Regions from separate parts of the Homo sapiens genome. Here all the other regions are linked to region 4. The links are contacts of gene promoters, found by promoter capture Hi-C in blood cells and fetal thymus (Javierre and others, 2016). All regions are on one chromosome and are shown on one strand. The core of a region is centred on a gene start or on the middle of the fragment in contact, and the rest is flanking DNA. Distances in the headings are between cores, read along the strand shown. Region 1 has its middle 5.5 kb from the start of CETN1. Region 2 holds the start of CLUL1 (clusterin like 1). Region 3 overlaps COLEC12 (collectin subfamily member 12). Region 4 holds the start of COLEC12 (collectin subfamily member 12). Region 5 overlaps COLEC12 (collectin subfamily member 12).

Evidence for each region. The method cuts DNA at HindIII sites, captures the fragments that hold promoters and counts their contacts. A CHiCAGO score of 5 or more calls a contact.
Region 1: a fragment that was not itself captured here is called in contact with the fragment with the promoter of COLEC12 in region 4 in 3 of 17 cell types (M2 macrophages, M1 macrophages and M0 macrophages); the score reaches 7.3 in M2 macrophages.
Region 2: a contact is called between the fragment with the promoter of CLUL1 here and the fragment with the promoter of COLEC12 in region 4, in 4 of 17 cell types (M1 macrophages, M2 macrophages, M0 macrophages and 1 more). The highest score is 11.8, in M1 macrophages.
Region 3: a contact is called between a fragment that was not itself captured here and the fragment with the promoter of COLEC12 in region 4, in 4 of 17 cell types (M1 macrophages, M2 macrophages, M0 macrophages and 1 more). The highest score is 11.0, in M1 macrophages.
Region 5: a fragment that was not itself captured here is called in contact with the fragment with the promoter of COLEC12 in region 4 in 4 of 17 cell types (M2 macrophages, M1 macrophages, M0 macrophages and 1 more); the score reaches 10.1 in M2 macrophages.

The regions. Positions count from the first base shown.
Region 1 is chr18:573,491-576,190 of GRCh38, forward strand. No RefSeq gene overlaps it. Among named protein-coding and RNA genes, the nearest start is that of CETN1, 5.5 kb to the right of the region's middle. The HindIII fragment of the contact is 5,186 bases long and covers 1-2,700 here.
Region 2 is chr18:595,722-598,421 of GRCh38, forward strand. CLUL1 (clusterin like 1) reads left to right here and starts at 1,267. Exons shown (of 10, transcript NM_001393344.1): 1 at 1,267-1,408. RefSeq lists silencers at 1,016-1,145, 1,206-1,325 and an enhancer at 1,748-2,247. The HindIII fragment of the contact is 7,229 bases long and covers 1-2,700 here.
Region 3 is chr18:396,952-399,651 of GRCh38, forward strand. All of the region lies in intron 2 of COLEC12 (collectin subfamily member 12), which reads right to left. The region is part of intron 1 of LOC107985155 (a long non-coding RNA gene); the gene reads left to right. Among named protein-coding and RNA genes, the nearest start is that of COLEC12, 100 kb to the right of the region's middle. The HindIII fragment of the contact is 2,733 bases long and covers 1-2,641 here.
Region 4 is chr18:499,334-502,033 of GRCh38, forward strand. COLEC12 (collectin subfamily member 12) reads right to left here and starts at 1,368. Exons shown (of 10, transcript NM_130386.3): 1 at 1,175-1,368. The coding sequence starts at 1,181. The HindIII fragment of the contact is 13,067 bases long and covers 1-2,700 here.
Region 5 is chr18:413,408-416,107 of GRCh38, forward strand. All of the region lies in intron 2 of COLEC12 (collectin subfamily member 12), which reads right to left. Among named protein-coding and RNA genes, the nearest start is that of COLEC12, 86 kb to the right of the region's middle. The HindIII fragment of the contact is 914 bases long and covers 823-1,736 here.

The DNA.
Region 1 (2,700 bases), core at 130-2,629, 74 kb after region 4:
AGTGTCTTTAAAAAGGGCACAAACTCTCCAGGTCACTGTTAATCCCTAAATCCACCCTTCACAGGCAGCCCATTTGGCTTATTCTGTGTTACCTAACACCACTGTGGGCTTCTGACCTTTCAACCTCTGGTGAGTGAAAAATTCTCAGTTAACAGCCTCAGAGCCAGCTTTAGATCCTGACGTTCCAGGGCCCTTGGAGAAGAAAAGGTGGATCAAAGAGTAACCAATAGCTCAGTCTATGAGCTATTGGTTTAAAATGAGATTTAAAAATCCAATGAAGCCACTCCTGGGCCTCCTGGTTCTGCATTTTCTGTGGATGCCTGCACCTGGTGGGCGCTCTGAAGACCACTTACAGGGTGGGACAACTGCCGAATTGCAAACCCCATGAGGTTCTGCTTGGAGTTTATGTCAACATAGATCTTGTCTTTTCTCAGCCTGTTTCCATCAAAGCAATGCTTAATTGGGGGCTGATCTGGGATCTGGGAAAGAAGGGGAGAGGGCAGTCATTCTTTCACTGGATGCATTTAATTTTACTCCACCTAACAAGTTCAAAATGCCCTGGAGTTTCATTCTTCCTTCCCTTCCTCCTCACACTTTTCCATCCTTTCCCTTCTTTGACTCCCAAACCCAAATGGGGTATAAGTGGAGCAGATAGGGGTTGGGTAGGGGTGAGAAACATTGTAGATCTTTATTTTATTCACCTCAAGCCCCACATTAAATCCCACATCCGTGTTTGCTAAAACATATAAGGTTCTGCAACCCCGGTCATGTCCTTGGAGACCATTTAAAGTCATAAAATAAGCAATGTGTACTTTTTTGGAATGGTCAGTCATTTAAAACTATCATAGAACCAGCAAATGCACTATGAAACAGAAAGCAACATTCACTTTTTAAAAAGCTGAAACACAGGATTATAAAGACATTTGATGCTTTTTGCAGGTTTCTTTCAAATAGTTCCCTGTATCTCAGGGGATAGCTTTCAACTCTCCTTTGCTATTAGGAATATTTGGGTGAAAGTTTGAGAAACCGTGTGAAATTCTGGCAAATCTTTTTAGAAAAGTCTGCTTTTGTATCTGAGAGGAGTATTTTCTTATTTCGGGTGTTCATGGAATAAGGAATCATGTAGCCCTTGGCTGGACACTTAAATGTGTTCCTGGACTTGCCAAAAAGACTTGGGTTGAGTCACTGGACTTGACTTCAAATTCCCATTCAGAGACCACTGGGACTGTAAAACCTTTTGCTGCTGAGTCCATTTCTTGTAACTGGCTCCACATATTTAAGAATAAATAATTCAGCTCTGTTAGTGATGGTTTTGGGATCCCCCTCTACAGCCCCAGCACAGTTATCCTGGTTTGTAGGAGCAGCACCCAGCATTCACATTTTCTCTGTTCTGCATTTGTTGGAAAGTAAATAAGCAGCAGTAAAGAAGCTGTATTGTGCATGTTTTCTGCCTTGGGTGGCACCTGGAATTTGCTGAATTTGCTGAGTGCAACTTTAAAAGGCTCCTGAGCCGCACCTTTTTCATGCCATGCAAGTCAAATGGAAAACCAAATAATCAGCATAAGCAAGCTGTGAGTCCTTTCTCTTGGTCTCAACGGACTCCAGACCCTGTTGTGGAATTCCAGTGCTTCTTTTCTCCCCTCTTCCAGCTGTTAAGTCTCCATGACTGGACTTAAACAACCATCTCCTCTCCCCCTCTCAGAGAATCAATCACTGATTTTGCATAATACTTAGGACATTGTGGTACAAAAAAAAAAAAAAATTGAGGGCCCCCCAAAAACCCAAAAACAAACAGAAACCCGCCCATCTCCACTGATTTTCTAGGATGTCTCGTTTATTTTATGTCAGTCTCACTAGAACTTAAAAATTACTTTTAAAGTAATAAAGCTGATTTTCACATGCCTTGTATAGACTTTCACTAATGCCAAGCAAAGGCATTTTGCCCAGATTGCTTTCCCCAGCTCATATACAGAGTTGAAAGCAGGGAATGGGGTGAAGTGGAATGGAGGAAGAACAGATGTAAATACTAAGCATATTGCAGGTTCAGTGACTCGCCCCAGAATGGGACCCTGTCTTAGATCCTACAAATTCCTGTTCAATCCTTCTAGGCAAGATGCTTAATTATTGTTATGTGTAGGGAAGAAAATTGTTAGCAGCAGAAGGTATCCGAGTCACGTGGCACCAAAATGTATCACTAGTAGCGAATATCCAAGTTACCTTAATAGAATCCGTATGGGTCTGCAGCAACCTCAATTCCTACATCCTCAGAAGAAAGAATTCAACTCAGGGTCATACGGCAGAAAAAGAGACTGAGGCAAGTTTCAGAGCGTTTATTAAAACGCTTTAGAGCAGGAACATAAGGCAAGTGATACTGGAGACAGAAATTATTTTAAGCAGATAATGAGGGCAAAAGAGTCCTCGGCAGAACTTCCCTGCTAACAAAGAACAGCCCAAGAAATCCCTTCTTTTCTAACAAAGAGCAGCCTGGGAGATCGGGCTGCAAACATAGATAAGGAAGCTGGAAACTTGCACGAGGGGATGCCAGAAGCTGCACAGTTAGAAAGAGGTACCTGGGGCCAGGAATGTCCACCCTGGGGGCTCCACCTCCCCTCTATTTTTAGCACATGCACAGTAAGAAGGAAATAAGCGGCCGGGCCCGGTGGCTCACGCCTGTAATCCCAGCACTCTGGGAGGCCGAGG
Region 2 (2,700 bases), core at 17-2,516, 96 kb after region 4:
AAGATTCTTAGGCATTAAGTGCTCAGACAGCATAGATCTTCATTAGATGACGTCAGGGAGAAGAGACACAGACTTTGCCATCTCAGGTAGAAGTATCAAAGTCATCAGCCTCCTAGTAAGACAGACCTGGGTTTGAAGCTCTGCACAGCCATTTCCTAGCTGGTCTGGGGAAAAATTACTTCTTGAAGCCTCAGTGTCTTTATTTGTAAAGTAAGTGGAATTATATTACCTTGTCAGGATGTTGTCAGAATTAGAAATAATTTAAAGAGGTCCAGCACGAGCAGGTCAATCAAGGGAAGATGTTAAAAATAACAACAGGTGAAATGTACTCCCAAAAGATAAAGTGGATACATAGATGAATCTTCCTCACACACAGAGTATAATAACCTCAGAAAAATATTGCCTAGAGTAAACATGCCTCCCAAGCCAACGTTCATCATCCAGGAATACGGAGAGGATGTTTGGGATATGGGGGGCATGAAATTTTACAATTGTAGGGCCCTTTAACAAGGGTAGACTTGCAAGTTGCACTGCCTTTCCTGCCCTCTCTGGCTACCTGTTCCAGCATCCAGAGTTTGTGAACCTGGGGCCCAAGGACAGCACCTGGCATGGGCAGGCCCACTTGGCGACTCTCTCAGGGCTGCTGCAGCTGTGTCAGTGTCCCCACAGGGAGGCTGACATCCAGCCATGACCATCGCATTAAGCCCAGCAGTCGGGCAGGGGAGCAACTGCTCAGAGGCACCTTTGACCCACTACTTTTTTCCCCTCCTGCTTTATCTGCCCAGAGCGAGGCTCTCTTTCTAATGTGTACAAGGCGTTCTACCTATGACTCGTGGTCCTGCCATAGAAATGCTTTTTTTTTTTTAACTGAATTAAGTTGCCAAGTTTGAAAAATCAGGAATTTCACATAAGCATCCCTATTTCTGTCTTCTTTTGAAAAACTGAATGTTCTTTCCACAGTGAGCCCACATTCCTTCCTGACGACCATCACCGTTCAGCTGGAGTAGAGAGGGCTCTGCTCGCTTCAGATCCGGACGCGCAGGTCCTCTGCAGGCCCCGCCCACCCGGCGTCACCTGCAGGTCCCGCCCACCCGGCGTCTGCAGGCCCCGCCCACCCGGCGTCACCTGCAGGCCCCGCCCACCCGGCGTCTGCAGGCCCCGCCCACCCGGCGTCACCTGCAGGCCCCGCCCACCCGGCGTCTGCAGGCCCCGCCCACCCGGCGTCACCTGCAGGCCCCGCCCACCCGGCGTCTGCAGGCCCCGCCCACCCTGCGTCACCTGCAGGCCCGGGCCGCGGGGTTGGTTTCCACCCTGGAGGTTGCTGACACCCTGTGCCCTCGGCTGACTTCCAGCCGGTGGCACAGACGCCTCCAGGGGGCAGCACTCAAGCGCATCTTAGGAATGACAGGTGAGAACATCCTCCGGGCCCCAGATTTCTCTCCTCGCCGCTCTTGCCCATTTCTCCGGAGAGCCAGAGAAAGCCGCTCCCAAGTCCAAGGCCGAGCTCCGCAGACGCCCGGCCCCTCCGGCGCGGACAGAACAAAGCCACTGTTCTTGCCGGGGAAGGTAGAAATACTGTGGGCTGCTTCAGAGGCTGCCAGCAAAACTCAGGCAATCTCCTGGGCTGTTCCAATACGTTTATTCTCTTTTTCAAAACAGGAGGAGGAGGTAGAGGCGGGGAGACACACCATCCCTGCAAAACTACTGGCAAAAACTAAGCGGAGCCGGGTGTGGTGGCTCACGCCTGTAATCTCAACACTTTGGGAGGCCGAGGGGGGCCGATCACTTGAGGTCAGGAGTTGGAGGCCAGCCTGGCCGGCATGGTGAAACACAAAAATTAGTCGATTGTGGTGGTGCATGCTTGTAATCCCATCTACTTGGGAGGCTGAGGCAGGAGAATCGCTTGAACCCGGGAGGCGGAGGTTGCAGTGAGCCGAGATTGCGCCACTGCACTCCAGCCTGGACAACACAGTGAGATTCTGTCTCAAAATAAATAAATAAATAAACCCAAGCAGAAAAAGAATCACTCTGAAAACGATCACATCTAACTATCAATGCTCATACAGTTTATGGAATTATCAGCCCAACTTGATAAAATCAGTATTTGAGGAAACTGTGGATAAGCCCCCTGATTTCAATCCCCATTGTGCCAGGTCCTGGTTAACTGAGGTTAACGAAGTAAAGAGCTGCAGACACTATTAACTGCTACCTTAAACCGATTACTCTAGCTTAGCCTACTTTCCACGTACAGATTTTACCAGTGGACAACATGATGCTTTATCTTGTTTTTCTCTCCCTGGGACTTTTCTCCAGACATTGAAAACAGAAATACTAATAAGGCCACTTTTACCTGCCTGATGCAAGAACAGAATTTTCAAACTCAACATTAATGCAACTCCTCAGTCCCTGACAATGGCGGGTGGAAAAGTTTCTAAAAATATGCAGCAGCACAATTATCGGGAAGAGATGAGATACTGTTACCTAATAAAAATGCCATAAATAGAGAATGATGAACTACCATGGGAAATGAATGCATAGAAGAGGACATGCTGGAATGTGGGACAGTAAAAATCACTTAAACTTTGCGTGACCTTGAAGAAAGTCACGATGATCTGTTTTTCCAGGTCCCTCAAACAGTGAGATGTGGCTGTTTCCCAAGTCTTCCTCTCCAGTGTAAAGGGTCTGAATTTAGACGCTTTG
Region 3 (2,700 bases), core at 25-2,524, 100 kb before region 4:
ACACCACCCAGGTCCCACGAATGCATCTCCTACCACCATCTGTCAAGTGACCTGGAATGCCCAGTCAGCTCTGGAACCAGATCTTGGATGGACCTTGTTGCTTTGTTGAGTTTGTGTCTACTTTCCCTGGATCCTTCCTTAGTTCTGTGTATCTATAGAAAGACAAGGAGATTTCCTGTCCTTCTGATTTGTACAGTATGTCCTCCAAGTTCTTTCCCTCTTATCCGTGGCTTCTATCATCCATTCAGACTTTGTTTGCAGGCAGGTTTGTCCTCTGAGGCCACCACCCCTACTTTTGAACATCAACCTTAGTCAATGACATTCCCTAAGCAGTAGGTTCCAAGCATTTTGAACATACACCCCCACCCCATGCTCTATTTTATTCATTATTTATTTGGGACCTAATAAATTATCTACACAGGCCATTATCATTACTTAATAGTCCAAGGCGCAAAATATACTTTGAGTGTAAGATATATGATAACAATTATAGATGTAGATTTTTCATCCCTGTGTCCTAGTTAGATTTTTATAATTTTGAAGGGTTTTTTGTTTCTTTGTTTTGGCCAGCTGCTTGGCACATCAGATCATCAGTCTTTCTTTCTTGTAATGGTGTCTGGCAAAGAGCTTTTGGGAAGGGGAGCAGAAGTGCTACCTTTGCTGTTTTTGTCAGTTTGGTTTTTTGGGTGGCCTGTGTTATTAGTCTATCTTTAACCCATGGTTTCTTCAGAGGAGGCTTTTTAAGCCATGTGTCCATCTTGTGAAGGTTAAAGCTAGATAATACCTCACTGATAAGTCCATTTAACCCGGTACAAGTATCCAGGTCCACTAGACTCTCTGCCCTTGAATTTGAGAACTTGTAGAAAAGGCCAAAGATTGGCCCATTCAGTTAGGGTTAAAATCGTGTCACCCAGCCAGGAAAAAATGTAAAGGATTTTGGAGCTGCCAGAGAAGGATAGTTTCACAGTTGATTCCATATCTACACCATTTCTAGTTTAGAGAACTTTTTAAAAAGGGAAGGGAAGTTACAGATACAAAATATGTCCAAATGTCTTAAATACTTACACAGGTCCATGGCCCAGGTCTATGACCTAACTTTCTATGTTACCAAAAAAACACAAAAAAACAGCAAAAAGCAGAACATGTCTTCATGCATCTTTGCCTCACAGGCACTTTCAAGAAAGCATCGAAACTATGAGAAACTGGAGAAGAATATGTTGTGTCTCTTCCCATTAGTCCACACTGCTTCTTATTCAGCAGAAATATTATCTGCAGTCTTAATACCTTCAGTAAATGGATTTTGTCACCCCATAGTAGGTTTGAAAAAATTAGAGCCCTTATATACCTTTTTAATATCAAGGGTCACAATTTCTAGTTTCAGAAGAATTTTGTGACTTTATCCAAGAAAAGCAACCACCATCAAGATGAAAGGAACCAGCAGCAAATTCCCCTTTCCAACCACTTCTATGGTAAAAACACAAGATCAGCGCATTTCTCCAATGTTGCCAGGCAAGGATTTTCTGGAGCTGCTTCTCCAATGCTTGAAAACAATCGGCTCTTTTGAATGTGGTCCCCTCTCCAGGTCTGAGCCTCCCTCTGAAGGAAAGAAGCAGCTCTGTACACTCAGCGGTCCCTGATGCAGGCAACTGACTGTCAGTGGGCCAGTCACAGGGAAATCTCACAGATGGGAAAAGCAAATTCACACTGCAGAAGAATTAGAAGAGTCTGCTTATAATGTGGGACTATCTGACTTAGTGATGTCTATAATGAACTTCAAAGAAGTCAACAATTATATAAAGAACAAGAAGCAAACTGACATTGAAGCCAACTGAAGACATGTACTGAGGAACTCCAAAATCTCCGGGCTTTTCTGGGGAGGGGAAATGTGAGCTGACAGCTTTGACCTCACGTTCCACATGCTGCTTCTTTTTGTGCTTCTTGGAGATGTTTATATATTGATTCTAAGTGTCCATGGACTTAAATAATACAAGAAGGAAAGAGGGAATTAAAAGCAGGTCTATATGTAGTATCCAGATCTAAATCCTAACCTAAACACATCCAAATTCCTCTGATCTTGTTACCCATGTAATACAACAGAGTAGGTCCAAATAGTGCAAAGCATTTTGGGACCACCCATGTACACTGGGCTACTCTGTCAGCAGCTCAAGGAACTGTTTAAAAAGCAAAGGAACCAAAAACAACACAAAAAAACCCCAATCTGAAACACTATCCAAAAAACGCACAGCGGTGTCTGAAGTTGAGATTTTTCTGCTACGTGGGTCTCAGGCTAAGCGTAAGATGCTATTGATGGAATGAACTTCAGACTACTGGAATGGGCACCACCAGCACCACAGACCTTGTGTGTGTGGCAAGGGCCAGGAAAGCAGGCCAGACGAGAGGCTTTTTGGAAGGGTTCTCATCACTGTGTAGCGCGCAGCTCTGTGCCCCTGCCCAGCCACTCCCTGATAGCTGGAATCCTTCCTTGTCAAACCAGCTCCAAGAGCAGGCCACACTCTGCTGTTTCCTACCGTGTCATTCACTAATGTATTCATTTAGCAAATATTTATTGACCTCCTCCTAAGTGTCAGGCCCTGGGGATATGCTGGGGAATGGAGCACAGATGGTCTCCACCCTCATCTGAAGCTTTTGTCTAAGTCTCCCTGGCAGGTTATTTGCTTGAGTTTTAATCTGAGTTAAAAT
Region 4 (2,700 bases), core at 118-2,617:
ACACCTAACGCCCTTGGAAAGGGAGTGAATTGGTAGGATATCATCGCTCCGGTTAGTTCCGCGGGAGCTGCCCTTCAGAAAAAAAACTTTCCAGAGCCAAAAGTTACTTTCCAAGCGCCTTGGGGCTTCCCGGGCGCCTCCCTCGGACGGCAACCCTAGAAGTCAAAGCGATTGCATCGCCAGGTCTGTGGCGGCTGGAAGCGGGGTGACCGCGGTCAGATGGCATTTCGCACCCACGCAGGGCTGTGTTATCCTAGCACAGAACCAGCAACTCTCACACGAAGCCTTGTGTAAACACCACGCGGGCCCATTCCTGAACGACTCTTTGATGCCTCCGCTGCGGTTACTTATCTCATACATAAATCAGGATTCCGCTGACAAATCTCCGTGTTTCCACTAAACAGAAGGCTGCCCTGCAGTCCTTCTCGTGCTTCTTTCTAAAGTACGATAACATCTGACACTTCCATAAACCGGCCTGCAGAGGACACCGCGCAGGGGGCGACTAACCAGCTGAGGTGTGTCACCCCAAAACACCAGTGGGCACACCCCAAGGCGGGCACGTGGAAGGGACGCGGAACCGAGGGCAACTATTTTCCAGTCGGTGAATCTGATGGAGAAAGATGCCAAATGCACTTCCCGAGCCAGCTGAACTCCTCGGGCACCTAATCATTGCCAGATGTGGCGAGGGCGCACGGAGAACATCCCCAGTCCCGGAGAAAACACCCGGCCGCCAGCGCGGGGACCGCTCGGGCCGGGAAACGGCTAGAGGCGGGAGGAGAGAGGACTGGGCGAGCGTGGGGAGCGCTGCGGCGTGGAAAAGCGACCGGGAGGGATGGCGATGCCTCCACTCTCCTCGGCAGGTTTTTTCAATTAAAAAGTTGGAAACGGGAATCCGTAAACAACGACTTAGGGCTTCAAACTACTTGCAAAGACGCGATGGGGAGGGGAATACTTGCGCGCTTCAAAACCCCAACCTCGAGGTCTCCAGCCGCGCCTGACCCGGGAGCCGGGTGCGCCCCCAGTGTCCGCGCACGAACCCGGCGCCCTGGCAGCCCCGACTCCCCGGGCCCGCAGCCCAAGGGAAGGTTCGCGCGGGAGGCACCTCCGTGGCCTCCCGCGCGCCCCGAAGCCCGTTCCCCCCGCCCAGAGCCCCGCGGAGCTGCCGCCGCCCTACCTTTCATGGTGACCGTGGGGACGCACCGCCGGCCGGGGAGCTCCGCGCGAGCGCCGCGCAGCCGAGGAAGTCGTCCCGAGCGGCTGCTCACCGCACGCCCATGGTAGCCGCGCCGCGCGCCGGCCGTCTGCGCCCCCGTCCTCCCTCGCCGCCGCCGGCCCGCGCTCCCCGCGCTCCCGGCTCCGCGCTCTGCTGCCTCGGGGCTGCCGCGCGCGCCGCTCTCGCTCTCCCAGCGCCCCTCCCCCTGGCCCGACCCGGCCGAGCGAGCGGCCGCGCCCACGCCCCTCTCGCGCCCTCCCGCGCCCGCCCCGCCCTCGGCCCGCGCCTGCCCTCGCCGGGCACTTTCTCGCCCGCCCTCTCCTGCGCGCCCTGGCCCCACTCGCGCGGGCTCTCTCTTTTTCCCGTTGCACCAGCGTCGGGATGAAGTCGGGAGCAAAGCCCTTCCCGGGGCGGTCCAGCGTTCACCTTCGGCGAGCACCTAAGGTGCCGCTGCTGCTGGGGTCGCTTCTACACCCCAAACTACCTAGCAAGTGTTGGGCGAGAGGATGGGGAGCTGCTGTGCCCCGGGGGTGGCGGGGGGTAAGGTGGGCCCTTCCCCAAACGGCTCTGGGGCATGGAGAGGTACAGAACGTCCTCCGGGTTCAGAGTTTCCAAGTGCGTGCGCTGGTTGACGCCTGAAGGAGACCAAGCAGCAGGGAACACTCTCTCTGTCACCCAGGGAGAGCCCGAGTGGCCAGAATCCGAAGTCACCATTAGACACTCTCTCTGCGCTCTTGGACACCTCCAGAGAAAAAGCCAGCACATCCTGCCTTGGCTGGAAAAGCCAGCCTTCCACCCAGCGCCCCTAAAATGATCGGGTTGACTCCAGTTTTGTTACGAAAGGAGGCCGGGCTGCTGAGAGGCTCCCTGAGTTCCCTTCGTGGTCGCCCGTCACATTGCCCTGCTGTATACTTAATAAAGCCCGTGTTTATCTTTCTCTTTAGAACCCCCTCTAAGCAGACCCATCGCTTTATTGCTTTAAAACATACACTAAGTGGTGAGTGGAGCTGGGGCGAGGGAGGTGCGGAGAAACTTTCTGCCACATGTTGACATTACAGATGGCTACTCAGACGCACTAGTCCACCAAAAGCAATCGAACACTGGCCGGGCAGTGCTTGCAGCTTTTCAGTTTGCCCTCCTGAGGACTTGGTAACACGGTGTAACCAATCCATTGGTTCCCTCTAAGTAGGGGATTCTTTGCTCTAGTAAAAGGTAGTGCCCCAAAATGAATACATATTGAAACATTTCATAGATTCTCCGTTCCAGGAGATTTCTTTTTTCTTTCTTTTTTTTTTTTTTTAATTTTTTAACATAAGGGGGCACCTTGAACATGACGAACAAATGAAAAGACCGAAATGCTTTTTCCCCCGCACTGTCTGCAGTTGATGAAACTACAGGGTCCTGGTCCTGGAGCATGTTTCAGATCTCACTGGGGCACCAGCCTTGTCTTTCAGGGCAAATGGGGATCCCTGAAGGGAGCTTAGGAT
Region 5 (2,700 bases), core at 30-2,529, 86 kb before region 4:
AATGGTACAGTCACTCTGGAAAATAGTTTGGCAGTTTCTAAAACAATGGAACATACAATGGCTATATGACTCAGCAATTTCACTTCTAGGCACTTATTCTAGAGAAGGATGATTTATGTTTACACAAAAATATGTACATACTGGTCAGGCACAGTGCTACGATCCCAGCACTTTCGGAGGCCAAGGCAGGAGAACTGTTTGAGGCCAGGAGCTCAAGACCAGCCTAGGCAACATAATGAGACCCCATCTCTATAAAAAATTTAAAAAAGCATCTGTACGTGAATGTTTACAGCAGTTTTATTCATAATGCCCCCAACCTGGAAATAATTCAGATGTCCTTAGACAGTGAATAGCTAAATAAACTATGATACAGTACATATAACCTGATGGAATACTACTCACCAATAAAAAGGAATGAAGTACTAATACATGCAACAGTCTTAATGAATCTCTAGACAATTATGCTCAGTGGGGTTGGGGAACACCAATCATGAATGGTTATATACTCTATGATTCCATTGATACAACATTCTTGAAATGACAAAACTATAGAAATGGAGAACATATTAGTGGTTGCCAGTGATGAAGAAGTAGGTGGAGGAAAGGGGAAGAAAATATGTGGAATCTTTGTGATAACAGGCATTTTTTGTATCTTGACTTTGTCAGTGTCAATATTCTGGTTGTGATACTGTACTACAGTTTTGTAAGATGTTACCACTGGGAGGAACTGGGTAAGGGGTACATAGGAACTCCATATTATTTCTTGCAACTGCATGTGAATTTACAATGATTTCCAAAATAAAATTTAATTTTCAAATGGGAAGCTTCAGGGGTGACTTGCAAATTGGTAAAGAGAGTAAGCAAAAGCAAAACAAAATAAATGAACAAAAACCAAACTTGGGTCGGGCGCGGTGGCTCACACCTGTAATCCTAGCACTTTGGGAGGCCGAGGCGGGTGGATCACCTGAGGTACCTGAGGTCAGGAGTTTGAGACCAGCCTGACCAACATGGTGAAACCTCGACTCTACTAAAAATACAAAATTAGCTGAGCATGGTGGCACATGCCTGTAATCCTAGCTACTTGGGAGGCTGAGGCAGGAGAATCACTTGAACCCGGGAGGCGGAGGTTGCAGTGAGCCGAGATCATGCCATTGCACTCCAGCCTGGGCAACAAGAGTGAAACTGTGTCTCAGAAAACAAACAAACAAACAAAAAACAAAAAACAAAACCGAACTCTTATGCAAACACAGATCTTTAAGGATAGAAGAGCCCTTAATTATCAGTGGGTTTGACCTCTGAATCTGAAGTTAGGAAAGGGCGGCCCAGAGATGAAGTGACTTGCCCAAGGATAAAGCTGGGCCTCTAACCCCCAAACAGGCTTGTTCTCAGACACCCAGCCTGCAGACCACAGCAAACAGGTGCTGCTTCTCTAGAACTGCTGATTAAGGTCCAGTAATACATTTGTGAGTGTGGCCAAGAGATTTCAAGCACCTTTTAAAACTGTGCAATCACCTGCAAAGCAAGGAAGGATTGCAGGAGTTATTTCCTAATATTTCACTTGGAATATTCAAATGCTTCTCTGCACCTAATAAAACTACTGTCCCAAAGACAAGAGGATCCTAATTTTCAAAGGTTACATTCAAAATGCATCAGTGCAAACACGGAATGAAGCTATTATTTATGTCACCAGCATTACATACACTGGAGAGCCAAGGCAATGGCAAACATTTGCAGGAAGCTTTGCAGTTTACTAACATTATTTCATTTGATTGCAGCAACAGTTCTGTGTGATGTGGGAATTAATGCCGTTTCCATTTTACAGATAAGGCAACTACCCCCTCACTAAAGTGACCAGACAACTCGAAGTCAGGAACTAGCAAACCGCAGAACGAGGGCTCCTACCTAGATTTTCTATCCTCAGTTACTGCTGCCTTTTCCTTGTATCATTGTGATATCTCTTCTCCTAGGCCTAGGGATGAGGTAGCGCCTAAATCGTTACAAAGCTAACTCCATCCCAGATATAAATTCCAGTCTCTAGATGCAAGTTAGGCCTAACTCCTTACCACCCTCCTCAAGAGCTTCTCTGCACCATCACATCATTTTGTACAAGATGCTGTTATTGTGGCTTACTGAACTATAATTGTTTACCTGTCATAGACTAATATTTGTATCCCCTACAACAGATGGCTATAAAATTGACTTAAATTTGTAAAAGTTGCCCCTCTTGTCATCTACACACATTGGGCTGTATGTACGAAGTCATGACTTCATGACTTCTAAGAAATTTAAAAGGCTTTTCATTTAGACCTTTGGAAGTTCCTCCAAGGCACTGGGGCAAGCAGGTATGTGTCAGCAGAGAAAAGGAAGTGGCTCTTCAGGATCTAAGAGAAGTGGAAAAAATAGCTTCACAACTTTTCTGGCAAAATGTGCAGTAACACTGAGGTTTATTCAGTTGCCTGTCATAGTAACTTATGAACCTAATTACACTGTAATGCACATCTGCCTTTCTTCAACTACTCAATACTTTGGTGTTGAATATGTTTGGCTTAAAATAAGTTTGGACTGAAGAAAAATAATGAGAAATGATAATCAATAGTACTAGTTCCTTGTCAGACTACTGATTTTCACAACCTTTAACTGAGTTATCATCATGCTAGTAGATGTGGGTGAAATATTTGTGGGGAGATGACTCAACTTTTA